5 separate regions of the Homo sapiens genome follow, and regions 1, 2, 3 and 5 are each linked to region 4. Evidence: promoter capture Hi-C in 16 types of primary human blood cells and fetal thymus (Javierre and others, 2016). All regions are on one chromosome and are shown on one strand. Each heading gives the region's core, a stretch centred on a gene start or on the middle of the fragment in contact. The rest is flanking DNA. Distances are from core to core; before and after follow the strand shown. Region 1 overlaps P2RY8 (P2Y receptor family member 8). Region 2 holds the start of ASMTL (acetylserotonin O-methyltransferase like). Region 3 has its middle 16 kb from the start of CSF2RA. Region 4 holds the start of DHRSX (dehydrogenase/reductase X-linked). Region 5 overlaps P2RY8 (P2Y receptor family member 8).

What was found. The method cuts DNA at HindIII sites, captures the fragments that hold promoters and counts their contacts. A CHiCAGO score of 5 or more calls a contact.
Region 1: a contact is called between a fragment that was not itself captured here and the fragment with the promoter of DHRSX in region 4, in 3 of 17 cell types (total B cells, fetal thymus and naive B cells). The highest score is 8.0, in total B cells.
Region 2: a contact is called between the fragment with the promoter of ASMTL here and the fragment with the promoter of DHRSX in region 4, in 7 of 17 cell types (total CD8 T cells, naive CD8 T cells, total B cells and 4 more). The highest score is 8.0, in total CD8 T cells.
Region 3: a contact is called between a fragment that was not itself captured here and the fragment with the promoter of DHRSX in region 4, in 8 of 17 cell types (naive CD8 T cells, non-activated CD4 T cells, activated CD4 T cells and 5 more). The highest score is 10.7, in naive CD8 T cells.
Region 5: a fragment that was not itself captured here is called in contact with the fragment with the promoter of DHRSX in region 4 in 5 of 17 cell types (naive B cells, total B cells, erythroblasts and 2 more); the score reaches 8.7 in naive B cells.

The regions. Positions count from the first base shown.
Region 1 is chrX:1,492,949-1,496,674 of GRCh38, forward strand. All of the region lies in intron 1 of P2RY8 (P2Y receptor family member 8), which reads right to left. Among named protein-coding and RNA genes, the nearest start is that of ASMTL, 42 kb to the left of the region's middle. The HindIII fragment of the contact is 650 bases long and covers 1,485-2,134 here.
Region 2 is chrX:1,450,832-1,454,416 of GRCh38, forward strand. ASMTL (acetylserotonin O-methyltransferase like) reads right to left here and starts at 2,078. Exons shown (of 13, transcript NM_004192.4): 1 at 1,917-2,078. The coding sequence starts at 2,009. The HindIII fragment of the contact is 27,509 bases long and covers 1-3,585 here.
Region 3 is chrX:1,251,437-1,254,807 of GRCh38, forward strand. No RefSeq gene overlaps it. Among named protein-coding and RNA genes, the nearest start is that of CSF2RA, 16 kb to the right of the region's middle. The HindIII fragment of the contact is 8,598 bases long and covers 1-3,371 here.
Region 4 is chrX:2,499,089-2,502,335 of GRCh38, forward strand. It overlaps DHRSX (dehydrogenase/reductase X-linked), which reads right to left and starts at 1,888. Exons shown (of 7, transcript NM_145177.3): 1 at 1,729-1,888. The coding sequence starts at 1,837. ZBED1 (zinc finger BED-type containing 1) reads right to left here and starts at 1,888. Exons shown (of 2, transcript NM_001171136.2): 1 at 1,729-1,888. The HindIII fragment of the contact is 4,150 bases long and covers 1-3,247 here.
Region 5 is chrX:1,475,981-1,479,584 of GRCh38, forward strand. The region is part of intron 1 of P2RY8 (P2Y receptor family member 8); the gene reads right to left. Among named protein-coding and RNA genes, the nearest start is that of ASMTL, 25 kb to the left of the region's middle. The HindIII fragment of the contact is 4,346 bases long and covers 1-3,604 here.

The DNA of each region.
Region 1 (3,726 bases), core at 560-3,059, 1.0 Mb before region 4:
CTGCCTCAGTTTCCGTTACTGGTAAAACAGGGATGATTGTAACAGCACCTGTCTCACGAAGTTTCGAAAATCCCAGAGATCAGGCCAGGCGCACTTTGGGAGGCCGAAGCGGGTGGATCATGAGGTCGGGAGTTCGAGATCAGCCTGGTCAACATAGTGAGACCCCATCTCTACTAAAAAATACAAAAAATTAGCCGGGCGTTGGGGTGGGCGCCTGTAATCCCAGCTACGTGGGAGGCTGAGGCAGGAGAATCACTTGAACCCGGGAGGCGGAGGTTGCAGTGAGCAGAGGTCACGCCACTGCACTCCAGCCTGGGCAACAGTGCGAGACAAGAAAGGAAAGAAAGGAGAGGAGAAGAGAGGACAGGAGAGGAGGGGAGGGGAGGGGAGGGGAGGGGAGGGGAGGGGAGGGGAGGGGGAGGGAGGAAGGAGGAAGGAGGGAGGGAGGGAAGGAGGAAGGAGGAGGAAGGAGGAAGGAGGAGGGAGGGAAGGAGGAGGAAGGAGGAAGGAGGGAGGAGGGAGGGAGGGAAGGAAGGAAAGATCGCAGAGATAAAGCCCTTGTAAAAGTGGCTGCTGCTTCCTCCTCACTCAGTCGACGTGAACTATTTTTATTAGCGAAAAACCAAGAACAACGTCTCCTCCCCACAAAACAAAAGCAAAATAAAAGCCAAAGACAGGTGTGAAGAAGATTTCTGGGAGAGCGCATTTTAAAGAAGGTGGGACTTTCTTCATCCGAGAGCCACCCAACCCAGCATCTCGGCGTGGGCCGGCCTGTACCCCTCGTCAAAGGAACAATTGGCTTGCAAACTGGGAATCTCCGTTAAAACGGACAAGACGATTTTGCTCTTTTCTTGCGGCAACGTCTGAAGATGTGCAAGAAGGGGGTCTGTTTTAGGCCAACCTCAGCCCTCTCTGCGACCCTCGAGAGCTTGTGCAAATGGCACAGCTCCTGCCTGGAGGCTGTGTGTCCTTTTGCAGCACTCTGGTGAGCCCGGGTTAAAAATCACACACCCCAAAGGGAGGCTGAGCTGAGGGCTTTCTCTGGCATTCAGCAGCGTCTCTGGCCTGGATATGCCCTGCTAGCTGGGGTATTTCTGCAGAGCAGCCTCTCCTACCCGAACACTCCCAGGTCCCCGTGACTTACAACGGTGGCTGCAGGGAGGGCAGACGTCCTGGGTGATGCTGGTCTGGTGGTGCTTGTCTGAGCAGCCGTCAAGCTAGGCAGGGGGTCCTGGGGGACCCTCCTCCTGGGCCAGAGGCGGCTGCCCTATGGGAGTGAGCTCCGCACAGGAGCAGGAGTGGAGGGCCAGCTCTCTGCTCTGCTGGGAAAAAAATCCCACTGGCTGTGCCTGCACCGCACCTTGAGACAGACACCAGCAGCCTCCGGAGACCCAGCAAGCTGCTCTTAGCTGCGATCTGTCATCTGCAGACTGAGCTTGGTGCATGGCGGTTATGAAACTGGCCAGAGCAACAATAGATGGAAAAGCTTCCTCTTTTTGGCCCTGGGCCCCAGGGAGCGAGGTCAGGTAATCCGAGGGGGATTTTATGTGTTTTTCTCCTAATGCGGTATTTTTCAATTAGGCTTTAAAAAAAAAAAATGAGTTTGGCCTCCATGTATGCGGGACCATTGCCTCAGAAGGGTTAGTTTAGGATTAGAAAATGGGTTAAACTTAAGGACAGCTTCTCTTGGATATATTGGATATTACTTTATGCTTTATGTGAAAATACTAATTTTTAAAAATATGTATGTCCATAGTCACTATTTGTTTTCTTTTGAGACTGAGTCTCGCTCTGCCTCCCAACCTGGAGTGCAATGGCACCGTCTCCGCTCACTGTCACTTCCTCCTCCCAGGTTCAAATGATTCTGCCTCAGCCTCCCAAGTAGCTGGGAAGACAGGCATACATCACCACACCTGGCTAATTTTTTTTTTTTTTTGTATTTTTTTTTTAGTAGAGACAGGGTTTCATCATGTTGGTCAGGCTGGTCTTGAACTCCTGACCTCAGGTGATCCACCCGCCTCGGCCTCCCAAAGTGCTGGGATTACGGGCATGAGCCACTGCGCCCGGCTGCGTATTCACTATTTAAAAGTAGTCAGTACTCATTGGATGATGCTAAGACAGTTTTTTATTTGGAAGCTTGAGGCTGCAGTGAGCTGAACTGCACTGTACTCACTGTTCGGAACTGAATTGAACTCACACCACTGCACTCCAGCCTGGGTGACAGAGCAGGACCCTGTCTTAAAAATTAAAGGGAGAGCCCTTTATTACAAACAGCGAGCTCAGTATATATTTTCTGAGTGTTGTGTCTGTTACAGGCTGCATTGTACCCTCCCAAATTCATACGTTAAAGTCCTAACCCCTAGGACCACACAATGTGGCTGTATTTGGAGGTTACCTCTTTAAAGAGTTAACTACAGTAAAATGAGGTCACCAGGAGTGGGCCCTGATCCAATAGGACCGGTGTCCTCATAAGAAGAGGAGATGAGGACACAGACACACACAGAGGGACGACACTGTGAGGACACAGGGAGAAGACGGCATCTCCAAGCCCAGGAGAGAGGCCTCAGGAGGAACCAGCCCTGCCCATACCTGGATCTCAGACCTCCAGCCTCCAGGACTGTGGGAGAATCAATGTTTGTTGTTTCTAAGCTGCCCAGTCTATGGTATTCTGGGATAGTCGTTCGAAATGGACAAAGACACCTCATAAGAAGAGGAGATGAGGACACAGACACATACAGAGAGATGACCCTGTGAGGACACAGGGAGAAGACGGCGTCTCCAAGCCCAGGAGAGAGGCCTCAGGAGGAACCAGCCCTGCCCATACCTGGATCTCAGACCTCCACCCTCCAGGACTGTGGGAGAATCAATGTCTGTTGTGTATAAGCCCCCCAGTCTACGGTATTCTGTGACAGCAGCCTGAGATGGACTAAGACACCTCATAAGAAGAGGAGATGAGGACACAGACACACACAGAGAGATGACCCTGTGAGGACACAGGGAGAAGTCGATGTCTCTAAGTCCACAAGAGAGGCCTCAGGAGGAACCAGCCCTGCCCACACCTGGATCTCAGACCTCCAGCCTCCAGGACTGTGGGAGAAACAATGTCTGTTGTTTACAGTCCACCCAGTTTGCAGTGTTTTATTACGGCGGCCGAGCTGACTACCCATCCACTCTGAAGCAGTTGGGAGAAGGCAGACGTCAGAGATGCTGCCGAAACCTAGGCTGAATGGAAGTGAACTTGGGATGCTGCTGAGACCTAGGCTGAATGGACGTCAACTTGGGTACCACTGGCTTCTCCCTGCTGTTGAATCCCAAAGACCATCTCGAGGCCATCTGGAGTCATGCTCCCCCGCCAGCTTCTCAGTAGAGACAGCACGTTACAGGGTGGGAAATGGTTATTCACAATTGTTCAGTGGCTGCCTGCCTTGGCGTTGGGGAGCCACATGAGAAGGCTCACAGCCACAGCCACAGCCCTCCCGGGTGCGACTCCCTGGGATCCTGCCCTCTGCCCTCTCAGAGGGTTTCTCTCTCTCTCCGCTCAGTTCACAGGAAGCAACTTGTCTGCAGTTCCCAAATCTACTTCTTGGAGCCTCTGTCCTCTACTATTTTCCTGGAGGGAACAGGCTGGGAAGGAAGGTGGTGTCCCCTTAAAACATTCAGTCAGCCGCGGCTTCAGACGGAGCAGTCATTTGTAGGTAACTAGGACTTGGGAAGATATTCAACACT
Region 2 (3,585 bases), core at 828-3,327, 1.0 Mb before region 4:
ACTGGATCACTCTCCCCTCCCCCATCCCTAGGGGTCCCGGGTCACTCTGCCCTCCCCCATCCCTATGGGTCCCGGGTCACTCTGCCCTCCCCATTCCTAGGGGGTCCTGGCTCACTCTCCCCTCCCCCATCCCTAGGGGTCCTGGGTTATTCTCCCCTCCCCCATCCCTAGGGGTCCCGGGTCACTCTGCTTTCTCCATTCCTAGGGGGTCCTGGGTCACTCTCCCCTCCCCCATACCTAGGGATTCCGGATCACTCTCCCCTCCCCCATCCCTAGGCGGTCCTGGATCACTCTCCCCTCCCCATTCCTAGGGGGTCCTGGGACACTCCTCCCTCCCCATCCCTAGGGGGTCCTGGGACACTCCTCCCTCCCCATCCCTAAGGGGGTCCCAGGTCACTCTCCCCAACCCCATGCCTAGGGCGTCCTGGGTTACTCTCCCCACCCCCATCCCTAGGGGGTCCTGGGTTACTCTCCCCTTCCCCATCCCTAGGTGGTCCTGGGTCACTCTCCCCTCCCCATTCCTTGGGGGTCCCGGGTCACCCTTCCCTCCCCCATCCCTAGGGGGTCCTGGGTCACTCTCCCCAACCCCATGCCTAGGGGTTCCAGGTCACTCTCCCCTCCCTCATCCTTTTGGGTCCCGGGTTACTCTCCCTACCCCCATCCCTAGGGGGATCCCGGCTTACTCTCCCCTCCCCCATCCCTAGGGGGTCCCAGGTTACTCTCCCATCCCCATTCCTAGGGGGTTCTGGGTCACTCCCTGCAACCCCATGCCTAGGGGTTTCGGGTCACTCTCCCCACCCCCATCCCTAGGGGGGTCCCGGGTCACTTGACCTCCCCATTCCTAGGGGTCCCGGGTTACTCTCCTCTCCCCCATCCCTAGGGGTCCCGGGTTACTCTCCCCACCCCCATCCCTAGGGGGGTCTCGGCTTACTCTCCCTATCCCCAACCCTGGAGGTCCCGGGTTACTCTCCCCATCCCCATGCCTGGGGGTCCCGGGTTACTCTCCCCATCCCCATCCATGGGGCTCCGGGGTCACTCTGCTGTCCCCATCCCTAGCGGTCCTGGGTCACTCCTCCCTCCCCATCCCTAGGGGGTCCCGGGTCACTCTCCCCAACCACATGCCTAGGGCGTCCTGGGTTACTCTCCCCACCCCCATCGCTAGGGGGTCCCAGGTTACAGGTTACTCTCTCCAACCCCATCCCTAAGGTGTCCCGGGTTTCTCTCCCCTCCCCCACCCCTAGGGGGGTCCCGGGTTACTCTCCCCTCCCCCATCCCTAGGGGGTCCTGGGTCACTCTCCCCAACCCCATCCCTAGGGGTCCCGGGTTATTCTCCCCAACCCCATTCCTGGGGGTCTCGGCTTACTCTCCCCATCCCCATGCCTGGGGGTCCCGGGTTACTCTCCTCTCCCCCATCCCTAGGGGTCCCGGGTTACTCCCCCACCCCCATCCCTAGGGGGGGTCTCGGCTTACTCTCCCCATCCCCAACCCTGGAGGTCCCGGGTTACTCTCCCCATCCCCATGCCTGGGGGTCCCGGGTTACTCTCCTCATCCCCATCCATGGGGCTCCGGGGTCACTCTGCTGTCCCCATCCCTAGCGGTCCTGGGTCACTCTACCCTCCCCATTCCTAGGGGTCCCGGGTTACGATCCCCTCCCCCATCCCTATGGGGACCCAGGTCACTCCCCACCCCCATGCCTAGGGGGTTCCGGGTTACTCTCCCCTCCCCCATCCCTAGAGGTTCCGGGTCACTCTCCCCAACCCTATCCCTGGAGGTCCCGGGACACTCTCCCCTCCCCCATCCCTAAGGGTCTCGGGTCACTCTCCCATCCCTATCCCTAGAGTTCCTGAGTCGCTGGGCCCTCCGGGGTTCAGCCCCTCCGTCCCCGGTCCCCTGCCCCGCCCAGGCCCAGGCCGTACCGCGTTGCTGAGGATCTCCTGACGGCGTGGGGAGGCGCTGGCCAGCACCACGCGCTTGTGCAGCAGCTTCCCAATCACCGGGCACAGCACCATGGCGTCCACGCCGGGAGCCGGGCGTCCGCACTTCTGAGCCCGGAGCCCGCGGTGCGCGCAGCGCGGCTGCAAAAAAAACAGGCGGCCAGAGTCCCGCCTCCGCGAGGCCACGCCCCCGCCCGCCTCCGCGAGGCCACGCCCAGTCCGCGCCTTCAGTGGCCTCCCCGCGAGACCGCGCCCAGGCCACGCCTCCATTGAACACTCCGTCAGGCCTCGCCCAGGCCACACCTCCATTGCCCTCTCCACCAGGCCACGCCCATGTCACGCCCCATTGATCTCCCCTGAGACCACGCCCAGACCACGCCTCCATTGCCCTCTCCGTCAGGCCACGCCCAGGCCACACCTCCATTGCCCTCTCCGCCAGGCCACGCCCATGTCACGCCGCCATTGACCGCTCCGCCAGGCCACGCCCAGGCCACACCTCCTTGCCCTCTCCGCCAGGCCACGCCCATGCCACGCCGCCATTGAGCTCCCCGTGAGGCCACGCCCAGGCCACACCCCCGCCCGCCTCCCCCCCGGGCACCGCCCCGGCCGCTTGGTGAAGCACCGCCCCCAGCTCCGCCTCCCGGGCCCCGTCCCCGCCCCCGGCGCTCGCCCCGCCCCTCCCCACCCCGCCTGCGGCGCCAAGACCTGCAATGGCGCAGGCAGCTGCGGGGTCCCGGGGAGGAAAGGCTGGCGTGGATACTTGGGGTTCCTTGCAGGCGCGGCGTGGGGAGTGGAAATGCTGGGTTTCCGCAGCTGCGGTTGTGGGCAGTTGTGGGGGTGGGGGGTTCTTACCCGCACGTGGAGGGGCCCGGCGCAGAGATGGGGGTCTTGTGGGAGCCGCGTCGGGGAAGGTAGAGATAGGGGGTTCCCCGCGGACCCGGTGCGAGTGGCGTGGGGATGGGGATGTCCTCGTGCCTGGTGGGAGGGGAGTGGAGATGGGGGTGTCCACGGGCCTGGTGGGAGGGGCGTGGAGATGGGGGTGTCCACGGGCCTGGTGGGAGGGGCGTGGAGATGGGGGTGTCCACGGGCCTGGTGGGAGGGGCGTGGAGATGGGGGTGTCCACGGGCCTGGTGGGAGGGGCGTGGAGATGGGGGTGTCCACGGGCCTGGTGGGAGGGGCGTGGAGATGGGGGTGTCCACGGGCCTGGTGGGAGGGGCGTGGAGATGGGGATCCCCGCGGGGATGGTGGGAGGGGTTTGGAGATGAGGGTCCCCGCGAGAATGCTCGGAGGGGTATGGATATGGGGGTCCCCGCGGGCCGGGTGGGAAGGGCGGGGAGATGGGTGGGGGGGGGGTCCCCGCGTGCCTGGTGGGAGGGGCGTGGAGAAGGTGGGGGTCCTTGTGGGAGGGGCGTGGACACTGGGGATCCGCGCGGGCGTGGTGATGGGCGCGGCGTGGGGACCCCCTGGGGGCGCGGTGCTGGGGGCGCAGGGATGGGACCAGGGCGGGCGCTGTGAGGTGGGGGACGCCCGGCTGTGCCTTCCCTCCCTAAACGGAGCCCACCTCCAGGGCAGCGGGTCCCTTGCGCGCCGCAGGCTGCAGGGGGCGCGCGTGAGCTGTGCGAGGATTTTTCTTAAACCCCAGAGCCCAGCC
Region 3 (3,371 bases), core at 626-3,125, 1.2 Mb before region 4:
ACATAGATATACCCATATGGGTATATCCACATAGATATACCCATATGGGTATATCCACATAGATATACCCATATGGGTATATCCACATAGATATACCCATATGGGTATATCCACATAGATATACCCATATGGGTATATCCACATAGATATATCCATATAGATATATCCACAGATATATCCACATAGATATATCCATATAGATATACATAGATATCTATCCATATAGATATATAGAGAGAGTAGATACAAAGAGAGCATAGACAAATAATAGATGTAATAGAAGATTAATTGATATAATAAGTAATCATTATAGATATGATAGATGGTAGGTGATAGGTAGACAGATGATAGATAATTGATAGATGATAGGGTAGATAATTGATAGGATAGATAAGTGATAGATGATAGATAGATAGATAGATAGATAGATAGATAGATAGATAGACAGACACATAGATAGATGCCGGGTGTGGTGGATCACGCCTGTAGTCCCAGCATTTTGGGAGGCCGAGGCGGGTGGATCACGAGGTCAGGAGTTCGAGACCATCCTGGCCAACATGGTGAAACCCCGTCTCTACTAAAAATACAAAAATTGGCCAGGCATGGTGATGCACGCCAGTAATCCCAGCTACTCAGGAGGCTGAGGCAAGAGAATGGCGTGAACCCGGGAGGCAGAGATTGCAGTGAGCAGAGGTCGCGCCACCTGCACTCAGGCCTGGTGACAGAGGAAGACTCCCTCTCAAAATAATAATGATAAACAAAGTGCTGGGATTACAGGCTTGAGCCACCACTCCCGGCCTGGGGCTGTAGTTTTCCATTTCTTTGTTCCAAAGGCCGGAGTCACCAGCTTATCTTAATTTGCCTTGTGGTCTACCTGCCAACCTTCCCACCACCCCACACAGGAAAACTCATTGAGTCTGCTTCAGCAGACAACACCCTGAGACTTTTCCCACTGGTGCCTTTACTTATTACAACGCCGAGCTGCTTCAGAGGCAGAACAGGCTTATCTGAGTCCTCAGACTTCTCTCCTTCCCAACAGCATCAACATTTTCCAGGAAAATCACGACTTGTGAATTTATTATTTTTATTTTATTTTATTTATTTTTTGAGATAGAATTTCACTCTTGTTGCCCAGGCTGGAGTGCAATGGCATGATCTCAGCTCACTGCAACGGCCACCTCCCAGGTTCAATCGATTCTCCTGCCTCAGCCTCCCGAGTAGCTGGGATTACAGCCAACTGCCACCACACCCAGCTATTTTTTTTGTATTTTTGTTAGAGATGGGGTTTCACCATGATGACCAGGCTGCTCTCGAACTCCTGACCTCAAGTGATCTGCCTGCCTCGGCCTCCCAGACTGCTGGGATTACAGGTGTGAGCCACTGCGCACGGCCCATGTGTAGATTTATTAAATGCCCCTGTTCGGCCTCCCAAAGTGCTGGGATTATAGGTGTGAGCCACCTCGCCCAACCCACCATCTAAAGTCTGTCTCTGAGCTTTACCTCATACCACCCCCCCTCCTGGTACCCATCCCTGCCCCTGAGAAAAGGGAGGTGAAGGAGACCAGGAACCACAGTTTTCAGCTAAGAGGAAACTCAGGTCAGAAAGTCCCTGCCTGGCCCACATCCCTCATTCTAAAGAGAGAACTGGGGCTTCCCAGCAAGGAACAAGGAGATGGCACAGACAAGGCTATGTCTGTTCAAACAGTGACATTCTCTGGGCCATGTGTCCATCAAGCAAAAGATATCACCATCCCCAGGTTCACAGACCAGGACAGGCACCTACAGGAAGCCGCTTACAGGTGCTGGGATGTATCTCAGAGCTCGGTCCTTTGAACACATCCCTCCGGGCCACGTTCTGGCGTTAGTACTGGAGGTTAAAGATTCACGGGACCATTGTTTCTGGAAAGGCAGGGAAGTATAAATAAACAAATGCTCAATGTCATCTGAAGGTGACGTACGAGGGAAGCGGAGAACTGAGAACTGGAGGCGGAGGGTTTCCAGTCATGGCAGAAGGCAAAGAACTGGGGCTTCCCAGCAAGGAACAAGCAGATGGCACAGACAAGGCCATGTCTGTAAAAGCAGTGACATTCTCTGGGCCATGTGTCCATCAAGCAAAAGATATCACCATCCCCATGTTCACAGACCAGGACAGGCACCTACAGGAAGCCGCTTACAGGTGCTGGGATGAATCTCAGAGCTCGGTCCTTTGAACACATCCCTCCAGGCCACGTTCTGGCCTTAGTACTGGAGGTTAAAGATTCACGGGACCATTGTTTCTGGAAAGGCAGGGAAGTATAAATAAACAAATGCTCAATATCATCTGAAGGTGACGTATGAGGGAAGCAGAGAACGGAGAACTGGAGGCGGAGGGTTTCCAGTCATGGCAGAAGGCAAAGAACTGGGGCTTCCCAGCAAGGAACAAGCAGATGGCACAGACAAGGCTATGTCTGTAAAAGCAGTGACATTCTCTGGGCCATGTGTCCATCAAGCAAAAGATATCACCATCCCCAGGTTCACAGACCAGGACAGGCACCTACAGGAAGCCGCTTACAGGTGCTGGGATGAATCTCAGAGCTCAGTCCTTTGAACACATTCCTCAGGGCCACGTTCTGGCCTTAGTACTGGAGGTTAAAGATTCACAGGACCATTGTTTCTGGAAAGGCAGGGAAGTATAAATAAACAAATGCTCAATGTCATCTGAAGGTGACATACGAGGAAAGTGGAGAACTGAGAACTGGAGGCGGAGGGTTTCCAGTCATGGTGCAAGGCAAAGGGGTAGAAGGAATTACATGGTGAGAAAGGAAGCGAGAGAGAAGCCAGGGTCTTTTTTATTTTTTTGAGACGGAGTCTCACTCTGTTGCCCAGGCTGGAGTGCAGTGGCGCGATCTTGGCTCACTGCAACCTCCGCCTCCCAGGTTCAAGCGATTCTCCTGCCTCAGCCTACTGAGTAGCTGGGACTACAGGCGCCTGCCACAGCGTCTGGCTAATTTTTTTTTTGTATTTTTGGTACAGACGGGGTTTCACCATGTTAGCCAGGATGGTCTCAATCTCCTGACCTCGTGATCCGCCCACCTCGGCCTCCCAAAGTGCTGGGATTACAGGCGTGAGCCACTGCGCCTGGCTTTTTTCTTTTTTTGAGACAGTCTCACTCTGTCACCAGGCTGCAGTGCAGTGGCGCAATCTCGGCTCACTGCAACCTCCACCTCCCGGGTTCATGCCATTTTCCTGCCTCAGCCTCCCAAGTAGCTGGGACTACAGGTGCCCACCACCACGCCCGGCTAATTTTGTGTATTTTTAGTAGAGATGGGGTTTCACCATGTTAGCCAGGATGGTAAAAGAACAAACTCTCACACGAATTCACAGAGGAGAGC
Region 4 (3,247 bases), core at 638-3,137:
GGCACGCTTCTCAAAGGGTGGCGCTGGGACCCCTGGGATTCCTTCAGTGGGTGCAGAGTGGAAGTCAAAAGTCATTTCACAATAAGGCACCCAAGCGCTTCGCCTGGCTGACTCCCAGTCTCCCAGAGGCGTGCAGTAGTGTCTTCCAGAGGCCTCCTGACATGCCATGAAACTGTCTACAGAGGCAGAAATAACAGCTCTCTTCTTAGGCTGGACATTTAAGACATTCAGGGCAACGTACACCCCCACCCCCACCACACTGACCCTCTGAACGCTCTGTTTTGGAAAACTGTTATTTTTGAAACAAAGTATCATTTAACCTAACATGGAATTAACATTCCCTTTATTCCAGTTCACAAATAATTGTTTACAGGTTTCTAGGTTTAAATTGAGAATATGGGCTGGGCACAGTGGCGCTCTGTCTGTAATCCCAGCAGTTTGGGAGGCCCAGACTGGAGGATTGCTGCAGGCCAGGGGTTCAAGACCAGCCTGGGCAACATGGTGAGATGCCATCTCTACAAAAAATTTAAAACATTAGCCAGGCGTGGTGGCTCACGCCTGTAAACCCAGCACTTTGGGGGACCCAGGTAGGAGGATTGCTTCGGCCCATGAGTTTCAGACCAGCCTGGGCAACGTAGCAAGACCCTATTGCTACACAAAAAAATTAAAACATTAGACAGGTGTGGTGGCTCACACCTGTAATCCCAACAGTTTGGGAGGCAAAGGAAGGAAGATCGCTTGAGCCCAGGAGTTCGAGACCAGCCTGAGCAACATAGCAAGACCCCGTCTACAAAACTTTAAAACATTAGTCGGATGCAGTAGCTGGTGCCTGTAATGCCAGCACTTTGGGAGGCTGAGGCAGGAGGACTGCTTGAGCCCAGGAGTTCGAGAGTAGCCTCGGCAACAGAGCAAGACTTCATCTCTACTTCCTATTACAAAAAATAATAATAATAATAAATTCTGAACCTGCAAATCTAGGAACAGAAGTTATCTGCATACACAAAACACAGTGGCGGTCATCACTGATGAGTTCAGACAGTGAACGAGTCCTGCAAAGTTGGAGATCTGTGACTCAGAGATGTTTACAAAGGCCAAGGAAACAAAGTTGCCACTTAACGGGCCTGCCCTCCCCACCAGACCTCCGTGGCTCCCCAGTGCCCGAGAAGCCGCCTCTGGGCCCCCTCTGGAGACGTCCTCCGGAGAAGGGCCCATCCTCACTTACCCTGGGGTGGGTAGGGGTCGAGGTCCCTGGGACGCCCGCTCCTCCCCTCCGGGGCCTGGCGGGGGCGCGCGGTCACTGGCCGACCGCAGGCGGCAGGCAGAGCCGCCTGATGTCTTGGGCGCGGGGCGTGCGAGCCCCCGGGTCCCCGGCCATGGCCCGGAGGTGTCAGGGTGCGCGGGGGGGCGGCTGCACGGGGGCTGCTTGGTTGGAGCCCGACCCGGGACAGGCGGGGAGGCCACACGCGCGGGGAGGGAAGGGTCGGGCCGGGTCGGGCCGGGCCAGGCGCGCAGAAGAGCCGGCGGGGACGGAAAGCGCGGGGCGGGGAGGTCCCAGCGCGCACGCCGCCCCCCCCCCACCCCCGGCCACACCTCGACCCCCGCCCAGCCCCACTTCCGGGAGCGCCACCGCCTCGCCAAGGTCACGCGGAGCCCCCGCGCCCCCGCCCCCGAGCCAGCCCGCGCCCACCCGGGTCCCCGGAGCCCTGACCCCTGCCCCGCCCCGCTGACCTGGCTCCAGGAAGCCCCCGCGGCAGCGCCGCAGCAGCTGCGCCAGGATCACCGCGGCGCCTACCGCGTAGACCCGCAGGGCCGCCCGCGCCGCAGACAATGGCGACATGGCTGCCCCGGCCGCGCCGCCGCCGCTTCCGCGCCGCCCGCGGGACTCTGCGCCCGCCCGCCCGGACGGACGGCGGAAACGCGCGCGCCCCGGACCGCCCCCTGCCCGCCCCGAACCGCCCCGGCCTGCGGGGAACCCCCAACCCCAGACCCCGCCCGGGCCCTCTGGGATCCCGCACCGCCTGCAGGACTGGGGACCCCGAGCGGACAACCGACCCCAGCCAGGACACCCCCCCCAGGACCACAGACTCCAGCCAGGAACCCCCCCCTGCAAGGACCATAGACTTCAGCCAGGACCCCCCCCCCCAGGACCACAGACCCCAGCCAGGACGCCCCCAGGACCACTGACCCCAGTCAGGACCCCCCCTTCAGGACCACAGACCCCAGCAGGGACCCCCCACACACACCCCCAGCCAGGACCACAGACCCCAGCCAGGAATCCCCCCCAGGACCACAGACCCCAGCAGGGACCCTCCACACCTCCTCCAGGACCACAGACCCCAGCAGGGACCCTTCCCCCTCCCGGCAGGACTGCAGACCCCAGCAGGGATCCCCACCACCACAAGACCAACAGCCCCAGCCAGGACGCCCCCAGGACTACAGACCCCAGCCAGCACCCAAGTCAGATCCATAGACTCCTCCCAAGAACACCCCCCAGGACCCCAGACCCCTGCTGGGACCCCCAAGACCACAGGCCCCCCCACTGGGGCACGCCCAGACACCCCACCAAGAACCCCACCAGGACTACAGACCTCCACCAGGACTCCCCAGTACCACAGATCCTCCCAGGGCCCCCCAGGACCACAGACCTCCACTGGGACCCCCACCACCAGGACCCCTCTCCAGGATCACAGACCCCTACTGGGGCCCCCTTCTAGGACCTCCACCTCCATCACAACCACCCCCCGGACCACAGGCCCCAGCCAGCACCCCACAAGACCACAGACCCCTGCCAGGACGCCCCCCAGGACTACAGACCCCAGCTGGACTGCCTCTCCAAGACCCCACACTCCAGCCAAGACCATGGAACCCCATTCAAGCCCCAGCCAGGACCCCCACCATGGGATCACAGATCCCCTACCCAGACCCTGCAGGGGACCAGGACCACCACGGGAACCACCCTCCCCATCTTAGCCAGAATCATGTAACCCCACGCAGACCTCAGCAGGGACCACAAGGACTTGGACCCCATAGGGAACCCCAGACAACCACCCAGAGCCATGCCAGGATTATGGACCAGGACTCCCACAGAGGACTCTGAACAGCTGTAAGGACCATGGACCCCACACCCTAATTCGTACTGACACCACAGAACCTGCCCCAAGCACGGACCCCACACCCCAGTTCCTGCTGACACCACAGAACCTGCCCCAAGCACGGACCCCACACCCCAGTTCCTACTGAGACCACA
Region 5 (3,604 bases), core at 337-2,836, 1.0 Mb before region 4:
AGAGCTCCCTGCTCAAGCATCTCCCTGCAGGGGCCAAGACATCTTCTTGACCTTTGACATGTGGATCTATGGCACAGGGGCTGTCCAGAGCTCTCCATGACCCAGGCATCAGACCCCTTCCAGCTCCAGGAGGGAGGAGGTACAGGTATACACCTGGTGCTGACCTACAAGGGTCACAGGAAGAATCCAGCTTTGGGACACCTCCTATGACCAAGTTGTTCAGGATTTTACAATGTGGTCTCAGGGTCACTGTTAGTGCACCCAGACCTGTTTGAGCAAGAGTCCTTGATATCGATTTAGAAATATAATGGGTCGGCTGGGCACGGTGGCTCATGTCTGTAATCCCAGCACTTTGGGAGGCTGAGGTGGGCAGATCATGAGGTCAGGAGATGGAGACCATCCTGGCTAACACGGTGAAACCCCTTCTCTACTAAAAATACAAAAAAGAAAAAAAAAATTAGCCGGGCGTGGTGGCGGGTGCCTGTAGTCCCAGCTACTCGGGAGGCTGAGGCAGGAGAATGGCATGAACCCCGGAGGCAGAGCTTGCAGTAAGCCTAGATGGCACCACTGCACTCCAGCCTGGGTGACAAAGTGAGACTCTGCCTCAAAAAGAAAAAAAAAAAAGAAATATAATGGGTCATATAGATGTTTGAGAGGTAGCCAAGGGTGGCTGATGCCAGGTCTAGAAGAACAAGGGTCACCTAGAAGGCTTCCCCTACCCTCAAGAATAGTTGGAAATGTAGGAAACATCCCTGGTTGCCACAACTTAAGGAAGGATGCTACTGGGATCTGGTGGGTGGAGCCCAGGGATGGTGCTCAACACCCTACCATGCACAGGAGGGTCCCCACCACAGAGAAGCATCCAGCCTCAAATATCTACAGTGCTGAGGTTGACAACCTGGCATGAGCATAAGAACTTCACCGTCAGCCTGGAGCAGTGGCTCACACCTGTAATCTCAGCACTTTGGGAGGCCGAGGTGGGTGGATCACCTGAGGTCAGGAGTTTGAGACCAGCTTGGCCAACACGGTGAAGCCCCGTCTCTACTCAAAATACAAAAACTAGCCAGGTGTGGTGGCGGGTGCCTCTAATCCCAGCTACTTGGGAGGCTGAGGCAGGAGAAGCACTTGGACCTGGGAGGCGGAGGTTGCAGTGAGCTGAGATTGTGCCATTGCACCCCAGCCTGGGCGACAGAGCAAGACTGCATCTCAAAAAAAAAAAAAGAAGAAGAAGAAGAAGAAATTCACCATCTGTCTATCCATGAATCCATTTGTTGATCTAACCCCTGTCATCCATCTATCATCTATCATCTATCTATATCAATCGTCTTGCAACCCTTGATCTATCATCTATCTATATCAATTATCTATCAATCGATCATCTATCTACCTATCAATTTTCTCTCTATCAATTACTTATCTATCTAGCAATCATATCTATCAATTATGAATCAATCATCTTTCTATGGATCTTTCATCTATTCATATCAATTACCTACCAATCAGTTATCTATTAATTACATCTATCATCTGTGAATCAGTTATCTAACAATCACATATACGTGTTCATCAATCTATCAATTATTTATCTATGCATCAATTATTTATCCATTCAATAGTTTGCAAATGTGAATGATTCAGGTATCATAATTGGGAAGATGCGTCTGGCATCTGGTGGGTAGATCCCAGGGACACTGCTCAACACCCTACAGTACACAGGATGGCCCCACCACAGAGGATCATCTGGGCTGAAATGTCAGCAGTGCTAAGGCTGAGAAACCTGCCCTCAAGCAACTGTGTGACAAGAGCAGCCTTCAACAAACACACAGAGCTCAGGAGTACTTTCCAAAGAATGTCTGCAAGAGGCTTTCGGGGAGAGAAAAGACCCCAGGCAGATGTTCCTAGCAAGAAGCTGGTGTCGTGGAAAGGGACAGTGGTCTCATCATGGTTAGTGACCAGCTGTGGATGAAGAGCGATTCCTTAAAATGCCTGCACGTGCCCCTCATTGCCTTGCCGTCACGGACCTCCCACCCCATCACAGAGGAGGAGACCTGGTCTTCAGGAAGACAGATGGAACATGAGCTAAAGCATCTCTTGGGCCCCTGAGCTGGGGTGGGGTCAGACGTCAGAGCTGTGGCCAGAAGCAATAACAAAGAGAAGTTCTTGACTCATGTGGAACCTTCCATTGGTATCTCCTGTTTCCAATCCTAAGCATTTCTCTGTATGATGGACACCAATGCTTTTAAAATGAAAAATGGTGCTGGCAGGCGTATGTGTGTGTGTGTGTGTGTGTGTGCCCAGCAGGGAAGCAGAAATTATTACCAACATATCTTTTGCAAACAGGGATCATATAAACTAGAGAGATTGCAGAAGGCAGACTGTAGATAAGAGATTGCAGAGAGGTTGTAGGGTGACAGACAGGTCCTTTTGGGAGGGAGGAAGTAGGAAGAGAGTTGGTGGTTTTCAATATGGGAAGCTGAAGTGGCACAGGTATCTTTTATTTATTTATTTATTTTTTTGAGACAGAGTCTCGCTCTGTTGTCCAGGCTGGAGTGAAGTGGCACGATCTCGGCTCACTGCAACCTCCGCCTCCCGGGTTCAAGCGATTCTCTTGCCTCAGCCTCCTGAATATCTGGGACTACAGGCGCCTGCCACCATGCTTGGCTAATTTTTGTATTTTTAGTAGAGATGGGGGTTCCAGCATGTTGGCCAGGCTGGTCTCGAACTCCTGACCTTATGATCCACCCACCTCGGCCTCCCAAAGTGCTGGGATTGCAGGTGTGAGCCACTGCTCCCGGTACAGGTATCTTTTTATGTGAACATAGATAGCAGGGGCTGGGAAAACAGAGAAGCTAGGTGGTGGGCTCATGGTGCAAAGACTATCATGGAATATACCAGAAGCCTCCTGCCCCCTGCTGTCTGCCTTTCTGGTGGTCCCTCCCCACTGAACTGCAACTTATCCTAATAAAACCGGGGTTGATACCACCACTTCCAGGTTCCCACATTCCAAGTCCCCTCAGCCACAGAAGCAGATGCAACCTCTTCTGAACTTCCAGACACCATTGAGTTTTCAACTTTGGTTTAATTTTTAGATCTTCCAATTACAGAACACACACACACACTTGTTATGAGTAAAAGAATAAAGAGAAATAGAGAGCTCTGTATTCGTGTTTGTCTTTGGATCTTTCCCCTCCAGGTCCCACTTCCCTTCAGAAGTAACCTCTGGGAGTTCGTTTGCTCTGGAGCCTCCTTTCATACACAGGTAAGTTTTATTTTGCATAGTAGGACATACACCCGTCACCACTTTTGTGAATGTCTTGTGGTGTCTCTAACCATATGCCCCACAGTGAGGGGATTTGGATGGATCAACTCTGCTTCAGCCTGTGTGCTTACACACACTCCTCTGTAAGTATTTTTATGCATACCTGTGAGAACATTTTCTAGGATCGATTTCTAGGAGAAGATCTGCTGATTTGAAGGGTTTGCATATTTTAAATGGAATGCATGTATTAGAAAGGAAGTAAGATCTAAAATCAATAATTTAAGTTTCCACCTCGAGAAACTAGAAAAAGAAGAGCAAATTAAATCTAATGGAAGAAGAAAGAAA